Regions from separate parts of the Homo sapiens genome. Here region 2 is linked to region 1. The links are contacts of gene promoters, found by promoter capture Hi-C in blood cells and fetal thymus (Javierre and others, 2016). All regions are on one chromosome and are shown on one strand. Each heading gives the region's core, a stretch centred on a gene start or on the middle of the fragment in contact. The rest is flanking DNA. Distances are from core to core; before and after follow the strand shown. Region 1 holds the start of ACADS (acyl-CoA dehydrogenase short chain). Region 2 has its middle 15 kb from the start of POP5.

Region 1 (7,652 bases), core at 1,626-4,125:
ACCCCGTCTCTACTAAAATACATAAAATTAGCCGGGTATGGTGGTGTGCGCCTGTAATCCCAGCTACTCGGGAGGCTGAGGCAGGAAACAATTGTTTGAACTCAGAAGGCGGAGGTTGCAGTGAGCCGAGATCGCGCCACTGCACTCCAACCTGGTGACAGAGCAAGACTGTCTCAAAAAATTTTTAAAAATAAAAAATAAATTAAAATTAAAATTAAAAAAAAAAACAGGCAAGGAGAAGAGGCCGGAGAGGTTTGACTTTTCACAAATCATTAATTAAACAACTATCTACTACTGAGTGTTTACACCAGGTGCTGGACATCTTTAGGTCAGCGTGTACGGCAGTAACATCTTCAACGCGTAGCTGCAGACAGACTGAATGCAAATGGAAGAACACAGTGGCACGGGAGGGAGCGCGCTGATGGGAAACTCAGGGGAGAAAACAGTTCAAGCAGGCCGGGCACGGTGGCTCACGCCTGTAATCCCAGCACTTTGGGACGCCAAGGCGGGCAGATCGCCTAAGGTCAGGAGTTTGAGACCAGCCTGCCCAACATGGAGAAACCCCATCTCTACTGAAAGTACAAAAACTAGCTGGGCGTGGTGGTGCCCGCCTGTAATCCCAGCTACTGGGGGCCGAGGCAGGAGAATTGCTTGAACCCAGGAGGCAGAGGGGTGCAGTGCGTTGAGATTGCGCCACTGCCCTCCAGCCTGGGCAACAGAGCGAGAGTCCATTTCAAAAAAAAATAAGTAAATAAAAAAGAAAATAGGTCGAGCAGGCTGCCGCTGATGAGCTCCATGACCTTGGGTATGTTATTTAACTTGTTCACAAGTCTGAGTCCATGGGGTATATAATAATACTACCTTTGGCCGGGCGTGGTGTCTCACACCTGTAATCCCAGCACTTTGGGAGGCCGAGGTGGGCAGATCACCTGAATTCAGGAGTTTGAGACCAGCCTGGCCAACATGGTGAAACGCCGTCTTTACTAAAAATACAAAAGTAGCGGGGCAGAGCAGTGCACGCCTATAATCCCAGCTACTTGGGAGGCTGAGGCAGGAGAATCACTTGAACTCAGGAGGCAGAGGCTGCAGTGAGGCGAGGTCGCACCATTGCACTCCAGCCTGAGCCACAAGAGTGAAACTCCGTCTCAAAAAAATAAATAAGAATAGTACCTTCACCTCACAGGACCGTTGTGAGGAACAGATGAGATAACCCATCTCAAGAACAGTGCCTAGTGCATGCCAAACACCCTAAAGGCACTATTTAGAATGAGCACAGTGGCTGGCACAGTAAGCAACTGACCATCCACCACATATTACTGTTGTCCCAGAAGTTAAGTCCTGGCTACTGGCCACAGGCTGGACAAGGGAAACTTCCAGAGCATTTTCTGGGTTCCAGGCCCTGCTTTGGGGTTCCTCTACCAGAGTCCGAGTGCCGCTGACTGTCACTGCCACCATTCATCCAGTAGCAGAGGGCAGACCACTATCGTGGGCTGCTGAGGTTGCACTCTCACCTGAGCCGCTGGGAAGAGATGTTCCTTATCCACCTGGGCTGCAATGGGAAACAACTCCTTCTCGGCAAAGTCCCGGCATGTCTGGAGCAACATCTGGTGTGTCTCGGGCAGTTCCACAGACTGGTAGATGGTGTGTAACTGCCGCCAGGCCCTAGGACAGAGAGCTGCCGGCAAGGGCAGAAGTGAGTGGAAGGAGGAGGCAGGAGGTCTCCAAGAATCCTAGTGACCCACTAACTCACCAGGGAGGATTTTGCCCTCCAAGGGACATCTGGCAATGTCTGGAGCCAGTTCTAGTTGTCACAACTAGAGCAGGGGAATACTATTGGTACCCAGTGGATAGGGGTCCGGGATCCCTGCTGAACATCCAACAAGGCAGAGGACAGCCCCCACAACAAAGAACTGTCAGCCCAAAATGTCCATGGCGGCCACTGAAAACCCCATACTAACTGAATGCTTAGTACACTCACTAGACATTTCCATACACTACATCCTTCAGTCCTCAGTATAATACCAACAGTAATAAGACCTCAGCTCTGTGACCTTAGGCAAGGGTTTTAAACGTCAGTGAGCCTCCGTTTCTATAACAAGTGGAGGCGAATAGTATTCCGCTCCTCGGAGTGCGAAAGAAAGACTAACTAGCGCTTAACACAGTTCTCAGTAGCGTTCCCCTTGTAATTCAGGCCAGGCAAAGGAAGCCGTGGCTATATGTGTCACGGCTGCTACAACTGGAGACACGTAAGATGGGAAAGGTACTGTATTAACCAGCAAGAACGAGCATTTGTGGAACACCTGTTACACGCCAGGCACGAAGTGCTTTACATACCCTATGATTTAATCCTCCCAACAACTCTGATTTTCTCTGTGGACATTTTACACATGGGCCAACCGAGGCTGAGGAGGGGCTGTCTTGCCCAAGGTCACAGATGCGGGTCTGGTTCAATCCCAGGCCTGGCTCCGGAAGAAGGACGCACCCTGAACCTCTAGTGGGGGTGAAATGAAGGGAGGGAGATATGGGAACTGGGAACTGGGCTGGTGGCTGGGGTCAATCGGGGGGTAGGGGTCTGTGCAGGAACCAGGGACGCCTGAAGGGCCGGGCTGGGTCGGCGCAAGGAGCAGCAGAACTGGGGCAAAGGCCGTGAGCGCTCCCGGAGTGGGGCTCCGCCTGCCAGCGGCTCTGACAGAGCCGGCCGCCAGGACCTCCGCCCGCTGGGCCAGACGCGGGCTGAAGCCCCGCCGTACGGATCCCCAGCGCACTCACCTCTGCGGGCAGGGCCCGAGGCCCGGGCGAGCAGCGCGGCGGCCATGGGCGACAGACACAGTCCCAGGCTTCGCGACCTCCCGCTGCGAGCGCGCTGTTCCGGAGTGCTGGGGGGCGGGACCCGGGACAGAGGCCACGCCCGTAGGGCCTCGGGAGCGGGGCCGAGGTGCGCTCGCGGCCAGGGGGCGGGGCCTCCAGTGGTCCCTCCCAAGGCGAGGAACCGACGCTCGACTGCGCGCGCGGTCGGTCAGCTGGCTGTTCGTGCCCACATTCGTTAATCAAAATGCTAACAAGAGAAAGCTAAGGATAGAGCTTCGCAGAAAGGCCAGAGAGGTCTTTTTAAAGCATAAATAAGATAGCGATCTTCGGGTTAAAACTTTGTTGGCTTTGTCGGCGGGCCCATCCCTCCTAAAATCCAATTCTATGGCTTAAAAAGCCAAGACCTGCCTTGTCTATCAGGGCCCATGCCCACCGTTCCCTGGTTATTGTTGCTTAGCTTTACGAGGCAGCTCTTCTCTAAGACCCTTAGCTGGTTCCTGACTCGGGGCCTCTGTGATCACTGTTCCTTTTGTCTGGAATGCCCCCTCTTCGTTTAGGTCTCATGGATGCCTGCCCTGACCACACCAAGCCGTTTCTCCCCCTCTGGCTCTCTATCTTTCGTTCTGTTTATTCAAGGCACTTTGCATCTGAAATTATCTGCTTCCCCGACTCGCTCCGAGAAGCTCAAGGACCTGTCTTGTGTTGGTGCTCAATATTTAGGCCCCTGGAGTTGGGCTGCAAGGAAAGCTTTCTTTTCCCCAGAGGCTGTGAAGGTGGGTGGAGATGCTACCCCCGTTCCACTTCAGTACTGTGTCTCATTCCCGATTGGGGCAGAACCCAGACACATATTTGACCCCTAGCATCCTCATCAGGACACCTTTGCCCCGCCCAAGAAACTATGCTGATTTTACTTGTCCCATAAGGGTCTTCTCTTGTGCAAGTGTGATTCTGATTCCCATAGCCTCCTGGGCACCACCCACGCCCTCCCAGGCACCCACACATCCCTCCAACTGCCTTTCTTTCCCAGCACTCAGCCAGGCAGGCATCTGTTCCCAGCATTGACCTATTTGCCAAAACTTCTGTCTCTTCCTCTTGGAGGAAAGTGGAAACCTCGGTCACTACTTCCTAGAAGAAAGCCAATCAAAAGATGCAGCAAAGTCCTTAATGTGTTACCTTTCTTTTTAAATAATGCATTTAAAAGAACGCCTCTAAATTCTCAGTACTTTAAAGTCAAATGAATGGCTCCCATTGGCAAATGCTCTAAGGGCTTCCTCACCTTTCCGTCATCCCACCTGGGAACCAGCCCTGGGTGGAAGAAACGATGAAGAAGCAGGAGAAAAGGGAGAAATAAGTGAGTTGTGTTTGTGAGCAAAGGCCAATAATTGCTTCAGGTGCCACAGAGCATCTAAACCAGACTCTTGAGAATTTGTGACTGTAAATATGAACGTTCAAATTTCATTTTAAAAGTATCCAAGTTTTCCAATAGAGACAGAATCAGATAGTGGTTGCAAGAGGCGAAGTGGGGGAAGTCACCTGGCTGCAAACACAAGGAACTCAGGAACTTTCTGAGTGGGTACGATGGAAATGTCCTATATCATGATTGTGATGGGTAATAAAAGTATTCATTTGTCAAAATGCATCAATACTCTTAATTGAGGTAAATTTTACTGTAGTTAAAGTATTTCTTAATAAGCCTACCTTTATGGCCAGCCACAGTGGCTCACACCTGTAATCCCAGAACTTTGGGAGGCCAAGGCGGGTTGATCACCTGAGGTCAGGAGTTCAAGACCAGCCTGGCCAACATGGGGAAACCCTGTCTCTACCAAAAATACAGAATTAGCCGGGCGTGGTGGCATGCACTTGTAATCCCAGCTACTTGGGAGGCTGAGGCAGGACAATCACTTGAACCCGGGAGGCGAAGGGTGCAGTGAGCCACCATCATGCCATCACATCCCAGCCTGGGAAAAAAGAGCGAAACTCCATCTCAAAAAAAAAAACCCTACCTTTAAAACATGCATGTAAACTTTCAATTTACAAAGCCACTCACCCTGGGAAAATATAAAGCAAAAATATTAAGCCTAAAGTCCAGTACAATTCCTCAATCACCCTAGAAGCCAGCTATACTCTAGTTCAACTACTTACAGAAGGGCCACATAATAGCCAAAGTAAGAGAAACCTGGAGCCCCCATTCGCCCCTGCTCCCCTCAGCAACACAACGGGCCCAACAATCAGGAGACAGGACGAGGGAGACGTACTGTGAAAATCTTTCTTTTATTACTGTCTCATGTGGCAAAATAACATTTTATACAAATAAGTCACCTAGTTTACTTTGGACACAAAGACAATAAAAACTGGAATGTGATTTTGGGGGAAGCGGGAAGGAGGAGGAAGGACAGATCAGGTCATTGATGTTTCTTATATTCTGTAAAAAATAGATTTACAGGAAAAAAAATAGACTTTCACAACTTCAATGACTTTACACGGTCCTTTGTAAAACCAGTGGTAAATCCACCTCCACCAAATCCTTCTTGAGGCTGATATGTTCTGTGACATGGAATGTGAGTAACACAATGGTTCAATGATTAGGCTCCTACACCAGGTACAGCAGCACCTGATGCCACAGGAATCCTCGTGCACTGGGGTGAGGAGTCAGTCCTGTGAATTTCAGGACACACTGTCCTCATCCCCAGACCTCACTGACATCATAGTGACACTGGCCATCAGAAGAAAGTGACTTTACAGAGGGGAAAAGAGTATCCTGGAAGCGTACCGGTGGGGCAGGACACACTAAGGCAGGACTCACCCAGTTTGTACATTAGACACAGCCTATTAAATCCATTCCAGAAATGAGTTCCACTTCAACTGAAAAAATAAACTGAAGATTGCCCAATCACTGCCATTTCACAAATTTCCAGTTTATGGTCAGCCCCAAAATCACATTCTTCCACCCTATGTATTGGAAATCAAATGGCCCAAAGACTGAGGTGTCTTCAGGAAGCACATGCTTGAAAAATGTTTTCTCTGCAAAACAGTATTGAGTAATACATAAGGAGACATAGCCTACTTTAGCCCAAAACTTCTTTCACTTGTTATGTCCTTTTACCTCTTAAAACATAGAATGAAATAAACTCGGATCTTCTTTGGAGAAGCTAGAAGGGCATTTTGGCCCAAAGGCTGTACAGGAAAAGAGAGGCTCTCTCCAGGAGACTGCAAGGCAAAGGAACAGAAGCAGGAGGGGCAGGCCCTCTGGCACCAGGTGGGCCTGCTACTCTGATGAAATGTGCTCCCAGCTCTTGACAAAGGGCAGGGTCTCCTATGCAGGTAGTTTTTTTGCCGCCTCCCATTGTATCACCCACAAGGTAACTGCTATCAACAGTTCAGATTCCTTAATAACATGGCAGCCTGAATGGTTCTGTTACTTTCAGAGAAAGTATGCCTTGCAATTCTCTCCCCAACTCAGGTACAAACGCTTGAATTTCAAACTCATACTGGTTTACACCCCAGAGTGGAATGCTTCTCAAGATTTCCTGAGCAGCTAGACACAGGAACCCACAGCCCCAGATACAGAACACCAGACTTTCAGAAGCAGCAAAGCCCTGTCCTGCTGGGCATGGACCAAGCACTATCCGCAAATGGTCTCCAGTGAGACTAAGGCAAGCTAACAAGGAAGAGGATACAGCACAACTCAAGCCAGATTGCCCACCTCCTCCTTCCTCCACATCCTCTTTCTAGCAAAAGCGAACACTGCAGATAAGAGATAGCCCACTAATGTAGCAGATACAGTGTGCCCAGGGGCATGTTTCCAAGACACACTCTACTAAGCACAGCTCTGGGCAGCTCCAGAACCACATCCCAGATAATACTCAAATATCAAATAGTAGAAACTGTCCCACCTGGGCCTCTGTCAAAGAGAGAAGGGATTGTTGTTACGCTTGACAGGAACATGCAAATCCCATTTGAGGAGCCACAATGAGAAACAGAAGGTGAGGAGACAGTGCTAACAGCCCTGGCATCTTTCTGCCAGTGAGGAGGTGGGAACAATGGCAATGCAGCTTTCCCCTGCAGCATAAGGGACAGAGCCACACGTAAGGCACCTGGATTTACAGTGGACGCCAGTTCTGAGAGTGGCCGGTCTGGTGATAAGGAACCCACTCCACAGGAGGAATGGTCTCTCCCCTCTCTCGGGGCTGAATCCAAGGCCAGCACACAGGGGTAAGCTAGGACCTTCTCAGTGAGAAAGCTGCCAGCATGTGGCATTGCCAAGACTCTGGCCTGGGACAAAGCACTGGGCCAAGGTTCGGGGCCACTCGCCCTAAAGCCCACACAGGGAGCAGCACTGGTGGTGGATGGACAGGAATTTCTGTGGCCACACACTGTCTCTTCCATCCCTGGCCCCCATACGGCCTTTCTCCCAAGCACATCAGGACACTCTCCTGTCACAGGTACTGTGACACCTCACAGTCACTTACCAGATACCTGGGCCTTTCCTAGTGACATCCTTCTACTGATGCTAACTGGACCCTGGCCACATCAATCGTCTCATCAGAGGGTTTGTGGAGTCTGTCCACTAAGGGTCTGAGGACAAAAGCAGCCCACAGATGTGCAAGTGAACTTTTTTGAGAACACATCACTCTGACAGGCCACATCAGCCTATTTTGCCCTTTCTGAACACCTAAAACAATTCTAACTAGCAGTCTGAAGGCTCAGACTGCATTACGTAACTCTGATCCACCAGGAAAGTTCCAGAAACTACTTCAGTAGAAAGGTAGATAGGAAAACCCTCCTAAACAAGAAATGTACAAAGAGCTTCGGAGGCAAATCCCCATCAAAAGCCAATCCTCCAG
Region 2 (7,652 bases), core at 2,310-4,809, 130 kb after region 1:
GGGATTAGAGGGGAAGAAAATAAACAAAAGATGGAGTTTGTCCTGGAAAACGGTGCCAACATGAAAGCAAGTTCTTCCTAGGGCCTTGGTCAGAGGGCCACCAGTAGCTAATATCCATTGAGCGCCTACTATTGTATGCCTGATGCATTCATATGGCTAAGCATGTGAGCTCTGAAGTCGGCCTGCCTGGATTGGAATTCCTGCTCTACTTCCTGCTAGCTGTGTGACCTCCGAAGAGTTATTTCCCCATTCTGAGCCTCAGTTTCCTTATCTGGAAAATGGGGATAAAATTCATACCTGCCCCGCAGGGTAGTTGAGGATAAGTGCTCGATACATGTGAACTTTTATTATAATAGAAATATTTCCAGGGGCTCATTTCCTGGGATTGCCGGTGGCTCATACCTGTAATCCCGGCACTTTGGGAGGCCGAGGTGAGTGGATCACCTGAGATCAGGAGTTGGAGACCAGCCTGGCCAACATGGCAAAACCCCATCTCTACTAAAAATACAAAAATCAGCCAGGTGTGGTCTCAGGTGCCGGTAGTCCCAGCTACTTGGGAGGCTGAGACATAAGAATTGCTTGTACCCGGGAGACGGAGGTTGCAGTGAGCTGAGATTCACTGTGACTCCAGCCTGGGTGACAGAGACTGTCTCAAGAAACAAAACAAAACAAAACAAAACAAATCTTTCCAGCAATGCTGGAGGAAGAGGGTTAGGTTTTGTCTCCTCTTTCTGCAGGGTAGTGAACCAAGGCTCAGAGAGCCCAAGGTCACATGGCTAATAAGTGAAAGTGTCAGGATGGTGACTCATGTGAGTCTAAGTCAGGAGCATGTGAATTCACTAGCCCGGGCCACCCTGCTCGCTCCTCAGTGGGCAGGGAGGAGGGCAGTGGCCCACAGGCAGGGCGCAGCCCCTCACCCACCGCCTCTCTCTGGGCCCCATGCTGGGAGCAGATACAGCATGCACGTGGGAAACAGTCTCCGGGTGAGACATGTACAGTGGAGAGGGACGAGCACTGCCCTTGAGCATGGAAACTTGGCTGAGTTCTTTCCTCTCTCTGGGCCTCAGTTTCCCCAGTTGCAGAACAAGTGGTGGTAACAGGTGACTCGAGTCCTGGAGAGTCTAGATTCTTGCTCCCTGGTTCTCTGGTGAGTATCCGGTGCAGGCAGCAGTGAAACGAGGACAAGAGAGGAACCTGGGCCACTGCCAGGTGATCTCCCCTTTGTCACTTCCCTCCCTTCTCCTGGTGAATAGTTCCAGGCAGAGGGAACAGCAAAAGCAAAGGTCGGGAAATGAGAGTGAGCATGGCACGTTTGGGGAGCTACAAGTAGAAGAATCCAGTCACCCGGTTTATTCATTTATTCAATTAGTTAATCAACATTTAGTAACCTGGTTTACTCATTTGATTATTCAACCAGCATTTATCACTGTGTGCCAGGCAGTGTTGGAGTACTGGGGATACAGCGGTGAACAAAACAGAAAAAACCACCATCTTCACGAGGCTCATTCTTTTTTCTTTCTTTTTCTTTTTTTTTTTTTTTTTGAGATGGGATCTCGCTGTCGCCCAGGCTGGAATGCAATGGTGCGATCTCGGCTCACTGCAGCCTCCACCTCCTGGGTTCAAGTGATTCTCCTGCATCAGCCTCCTGAGTAGCTGGATTCAGGTGTCTGCCACCATGCCCGGATAATTTTTTGTATTTTTAGTAGAGACAGCGTTTCACCGTGTTGACCAGGCTGGTCTCAAACTTCTGACCTCAAGTGATCCAACCACCTTGGCCTCCCAAAGTACTGGGATTACAAGCGTGAGCCACCCCACTCAGCCTCATGGGGCTCATTTTAATTGGGGGAGATGGAAAAACGAAGTAAACAAATCAATACCCAGAATCATTTCAGCATGGGATAAGCATTTACATGAATAAAAGCTAATACGTGTAAAGCATCTGCTATGGGTCAGGCATTGCCAACAGATGTTAAATAATTTGATCCTTGCTACCACACGATGAGGCTGTAATCACCACTCCCACCTTACAGCTGAGGAAATTGTGGCTTAACAGAGAAGTTAAGTAACCTGCCCAGTGCCACACAGCATTGGAGCAGGTGGAGCTGTGATTCAAATCCAGGCCATCTGGCACCACTGTGCTGGCTGGTGAGGAGAGCACTAAATAGGGCAACTTGTCCAGGGAATAGCCCTCTAAAGAGGTGACATTTGAGCCAGGACGCATGAGAAGGCTGAGGCTGCCATGCAAAATCCAGGAAGCAGAAGGTTCCAGATGGAGGGAACATTGAGTGCAAAGGCCCTGAGGCAAGTAGGGGCTTCACAGGTTGGGAGAAGAGCGAGGAGGTCAGTTTTAACTTGAGGAGAGGATAGAAGAGGTCAGAGCGTTGCGCGGGGCAGACACGTGGGGTTGGGGGGGAGCCTCCTCTGTCCTCCTGAAGGAGGCCCAGGAGACGTTCCCAGGAGCCTCCCGGCAGGTCTGAGGGATGCTTGGGAAGCAGGGCCTGAAGTCGTTCTGACAGGTGTGGCTCCCCTCCTCTCCCCTATCAAGTCGATGAGGCGTGGTCAAAGCTGATCTTCCCCGGGGCCCATTGCTGGGAAATGAGTGCAGCTGCAACCTGCCGTGTAGCCTCGGCCAGCACCACCCACAGGTGGCCCCCTCCCTGACTGATGGGGACATGGAAGGGCCCGTCTCATTCTTCCCTCTTCACCCTAAATCCACATCCTCCCTGGCCCTGTACCTCCCACAGAGCCACAAATGAGGGGCTCCCATTCTCCAGTGGAGGCTGGACCACCTAGCTCCTGCCCTCAGGGTGCCCCCCAGAGGTCTGAGTCCAGTCCCAGCTCAGTGAGGGAATGGGGTGTTCCCCAGCTTGGTCTCAGAGGGTCTGAGAGTCAAGAGTCTGGCCTTAGGGAGAAATCTTGGTGGGCTGGAAAGGGATCCACGTTCCTAGTCATATAGACCTAAATTAGAGTCCAGACTCTATCCCCATGTGGTTTTGGGAAAGTCGCTTCACCTAAGTCTCAGTTTCATCATCTGAAAAATGGGAATAATCACACTACCTACCTCATAGGGTCAATGTGAAAATTAAATATAACATGGCTGAGAGGGGGCTTTCTGGGGCTGGAAATGTTCTATATCTTTACCTGCAAGGTGATATATAAAATTCAATGAAATGTACATTGTAGGGTGGCTCATGCCTATAATCCCAGCACTTTGGGAGGCTGAGGCGGGTGGATGACTTGAGCACAGGAGTTCGAGACCAGCCTGGGCAACATGGCAAAACCCCATCTCTACTAAAAATACAAAAATTAGCCAGGCGTGGTGGCAGGTGCCTGTAATCCCAGCTACTCGGGAGGCTGAGGCAGGAGAATCGCTTGAGCCTGGGAGGCAGAGATTGCGGTGAGCCGAGATCATGCCACTGCCCTCCAGCCTGGGCAACTCTGTTGGAATCTCATTCTTGAGATTCCATCTCAAAAATAACACCACCACCACGGTAGATTTATGCATTTTACTGTATGTATGTTACAACTCAATTTTTTTTTTTTTTTGAGAACAGAGTCTTGCTCTTTCGCCCAGGCCAGACTGCAGTGGCACTATCTCGGCTCACTGCAAGCTCCGCCTCCCGGGTTCACACCATTCTTCTGCCTCAGCCTCCGGAGTAGCTGGGACTACAGGCACCCGCCACCGCACCCAGCTAATTTTTTGTATTTTTAGTAGAGACGGGGTTTCACTGTGTTAGCCAAGATGGTCTCGATCTCCTGACCTCGTGATCCGCCCGCCTCGGCCTCCCCAAATGCTGGGATTACAGGTGTGAGCCACTGCACCCGGCCATAACTCAATTTTTTTTTAAATGCAAAGTACCTGACCCATGGCTAGCATCACATAAATGTTAGGTAGTATTAGCATAAAGTGTTCCATAAATATTTATTGAATATATTTGTTAAATAAGCCCTTGTAAGTACCCTTCCATGTTTTGTTTATCATTTATTTGATTCCCAGGGCTCCTGGGGCCTGGATGCCTACAGGAGCTCAAACTCAATATGTCCGTGACTGATTTCCTTCACCTCATTCTTGCTTCTCCCCAGGCTTCTCTAACTGCCCAATGGCTCAACCCAGAAATGTGGATGATACCCTGCCTGCCTTTTTCTGTTCTTCTTCTCTCCAACCTCTTACAGCCAACTGATTACTAAAACTTCCTGTAGTAGACTCTCTCCAAAGACGGCCCCCAACCATTCCCCCGCCACCCTATAAGGGCATGCTGACCTCCCATCAAGAGGTAGAGATTGAGGCTGGGCACAGTGGTTCACGCCTGTAATCCCAGCACTTTGGGAGGCCAAGACGGGCAGATCACCTGAGGTTAGGAATTTGAGACCAGCCTGGCCAACATGGTGAAACCCCGTCTCTAGTAAAAGTACAAAAACTGCCCAGGCATGGTGGCACACACCTGTGGTCCCAGCTACTTGGGGGACTGAGGCACAAGAGTCACTTGTACCGGGAGGTGGAGACTGCAGTGAGTCAAGATTGTACCACTGCACTCCAGCCTGGGCGACAGAGTGAGACCCTGTCTCAAAAACAAACACACAACAACAAAAAATAGATCAATGACATAAAGGTAGGAGCTAATACCATAGAACAATTAAAAGAAACCATAAGGCCAGGTGTGGTGGCTCACGCCTGTAGTCCCAGCTACTCGGGAGGCTGAGGCAGGAGAATCACTTGAACCTGGGAAGTGGAGGTTGCCGTGAGCCGAGATCGTGTTATTGCACTTCAGCTTGGGCAATAAGAGTGAACTCCATCTCAGAAAAAATAAAATAAATAAAATAAAATAAACCACAGGGATAAATCTTCATGATCTAGGATTTAGCAACAGATTCTTCAATTTGACACTGAAATCACAAGAAACAAAAGAAAAAAGAGACAAACTGGATTTCATGAAAAGTAAAAACTTTTCTGCATCAAAGAACATTATCAAGAAAGTAAACAGGCAACCTGCAGAATGGGAGGCAATATTTGCACATCGTATATCTGATAAGAATTTAGTATCCAGAATATATAAAGAACTCAACAACAAAAAGACAAACAACCCTTCTAAAAAATGGGCCAAGTGAGCCAGATGCGGTGGCTCACGCCTGTAACCCCAGCACTTTGGGAGGCCGAGGTGGGCAGATCACGAGGTCAGGCGTTTGAGACCAGCCTGGCCAACATGGCGAAACCCTGTCTCTACTAAAAATACAAAAATTAGCCAGGCGTAGTGGTGGGTGCCTGTAATCCAAGCTACTCAGGAGACTGAGGCAGGAGAATCGCTTGAACCTGGGAGGCAGAGGATGCAATGAGCTGAGATCGTGCCACTGCACTCCAGCCTGGACAACAAGGACAAGACTCTGTCTCAACAACAACAAAAAAAAAATGAGCCAAGTAAGCGAACAGACATTTCTCCAAAGAAGATAAACAAATGGCCAGAAAGCATATGAAAAAGATGTTCAACATCATTGGCCATTAAGTAAATGTAAATCAAAACCACAATAAGATATCACCCACTAGGATGGCCTTAATTTTTAAAAAGGGGGCAGAGCTCTTCCTGTTCTCCATCATGGCACAGGATGAAGGTGAAAAGGAGAACCCCACGTGGGAACTTTGCATTCACAAGCTCTGCCTCGACATCTGTGTTGGGGAGAGTAGAGACTGATCCCTGCAGCCAAAGCATTGGAGCAGCTTGCAGCCCGGACCCTGTGTTTTCCAAAGCCAGATACACTGTCATATTGTTTGACATCCGGAAAAATGAAAAGCCGAAAATGCTGTCCGCTGCATAGTTCAAGAGGCCAAAGCAGAAGAAATCCTGGAGAAGGGTCTAGAGGTATGGGAGTATGAGTTGAGAAAAAATAACTTCTCAGATACTGGAAACTTTGATTTTGGGATCCAGGAACACATCAATCTGGGTATCAAATATGACCCAAGTGTGGGTGTCTATGGCCTGGACTTCTCTGCGGTGCTGAGTAGGCCGGGTTTCGGCATCACAGACAAGAAGCACAGGACAGGCTGCACTGGGGCCAAACACAGAATCAGCAAAGAGGAGACCATGCACTGGCTCCAACAGAAGTGTGATGGGATCATGCTTCCTTGCAAATAAATTCCCGTTTCTATCCAAAAAGCCAATAAACAGTTTTCAGGGAAATGTAAAACAAAATAAAATAAGAAGTGGGGAGAGAAATAACAAGTGCTGGCTGGGTGCGGTGGCTCGTGCCTGTAATCCCAGCACTTTGGGAGGCCGAGGCCGGCTAATCGCCTAAGGTCAGGAGTTCGAGACCATCCTGGCCAACATGGTGAAACCCCGTCTCTACTAAAAATATAAAAATTAGCCAGGCGTAGTGGCGCACGCCTGTAGTCTCAGCTACTGGGGAGGCTGAGGCTGGAGAATCGCTTGAACCTGGGAGGTGAAGGTTGCAGTGAACCAAGATCGTGCCACTGCACTCCAGCCTGGGCAACAGAGCAAGACTCCATCTCAAACAAACAGAAATAACGAGTGTTGGTAAGGATGTGGAAAAATAGACACTTCTGTTGTGTTAGTCCATCCAGGCAGCTATAACAAAGTACTGTAGACCGGATGGCTCATAAACAACAGAAATTCAGCCAGGCGCGGGGGCTAATGCCTGTAATCCCAGCACTTTGGGAGGCTGAGGAGGGTGGATCTTTTGAGGACAGGAGTTTGATACCAGCCTAGCCAACATGGGAAAACCCCATCTCTACTAAAAATACAAAAAGTAGCCGGGCATGGTGGCAGGGGCCTGTAATCCCAGCTCCTCAGAAGACTGAGGAAGGAGAATCGCTTGAACCCAGGAGACAGAGGTTGCAGTGAGCCGAGACTCTGCCACTGCACTCCAGCCTGGGCAACAGAGTGAGACCCCGTTTCAAAAAGAAACAACAACAACAAAAACCAGAAATGTATTTCTCGTAGTTTTGGACCCTGGAAGTGTGAGGTCACGGTGGCCAGCATGGCCGGGTTCTGGTGAGGGCCTTCCTCTGGGTTGAAGACTGTGGACTTCTCATTGTCCCCTCACATGGTGGAGAGAAGGCAACAGTGTTCTCCGGGGTCCCTTTTCTAAGCACATTCATCCCACTGATGAGGGCTCCACTCTCATGGCCTGTTTACTTCCCGAAGGCCCCACCTCCTAATGCCATCACTTCATGGGTGAGGATCTCAATATATGATTTTGGGGAGGACATGAACATTCAGTCCATTGCACTCATCCATTGCGGCTGGGAGTGGAAAATGGTGCAGCTGCTGTGGGAAACAGTTTGGCAGTTCCTCAAAAAGTTAAACATAGAGTTACCATATGACAGAAATTCCATTCCTAAAGAACTGAAAGCAGAGACTCAAACAGATCCTTGTTCACCAATGCTCATAGCAGCATTATTCCCAAGAGCCAAAAGGTGGAAACAAGCCAAATATCCATCAACAGATTAATGGATAAACAAATTGTGGTCTAGCCATACAATGGAATATTATTCAGCCATAAAAAGGAATGAAGTGCTGGCGCATGCTACAACATGGGTGAACCCTGACAACATCATGCTAACTGAAAGCAGCCAGACACCAGAGGTCACATATTGTATGATTCCATGGATCTGAAATGTCTGGAATAGGTACACCCATAGA

What was found. The method cuts DNA at HindIII sites, captures the fragments that hold promoters and counts their contacts. A CHiCAGO score of 5 or more calls a contact.
Region 2: a contact is called between a fragment that was not itself captured here and the fragment with the promoter of ACADS in region 1, in 2 of 17 cell types (M0 macrophages and endothelial precursors). The highest score is 6.5, in M0 macrophages.

Annotation. Positions count from the first base shown.
Region 1 is chr12:120,721,049-120,728,700 of GRCh38, reverse strand. It overlaps ACADS (acyl-CoA dehydrogenase short chain), which reads right to left and starts at 2,875. Exons shown (of 10, transcript NM_000017.4): 1 at 2,770-2,875; 2 at 1,512-1,675. The coding sequence starts at 2,815. It overlaps UNC119B (unc-119 lipid binding chaperone B), which reads right to left. Exons shown (of 5, transcript NM_001080533.3): 5 at 5,061-7,652. MIR4700 (microRNA 4700) reads right to left here and starts at 5,508; the gene lies at 5,435-5,508. RefSeq lists a silencer at 2,556-3,065 and an enhancer at 2,702-3,203. The HindIII fragment of the contact is 22,347 bases long and covers 1-3,557 here.
Region 2 is chr12:120,592,485-120,600,136 of GRCh38, reverse strand. It overlaps the pseudogene RPL11P5. Among named protein-coding and RNA genes, the nearest start is that of POP5, 15 kb to the right of the region's middle. RefSeq lists an enhancer at 2,582-3,082. The HindIII fragment of the contact is 9,227 bases long and covers 1-7,652 here.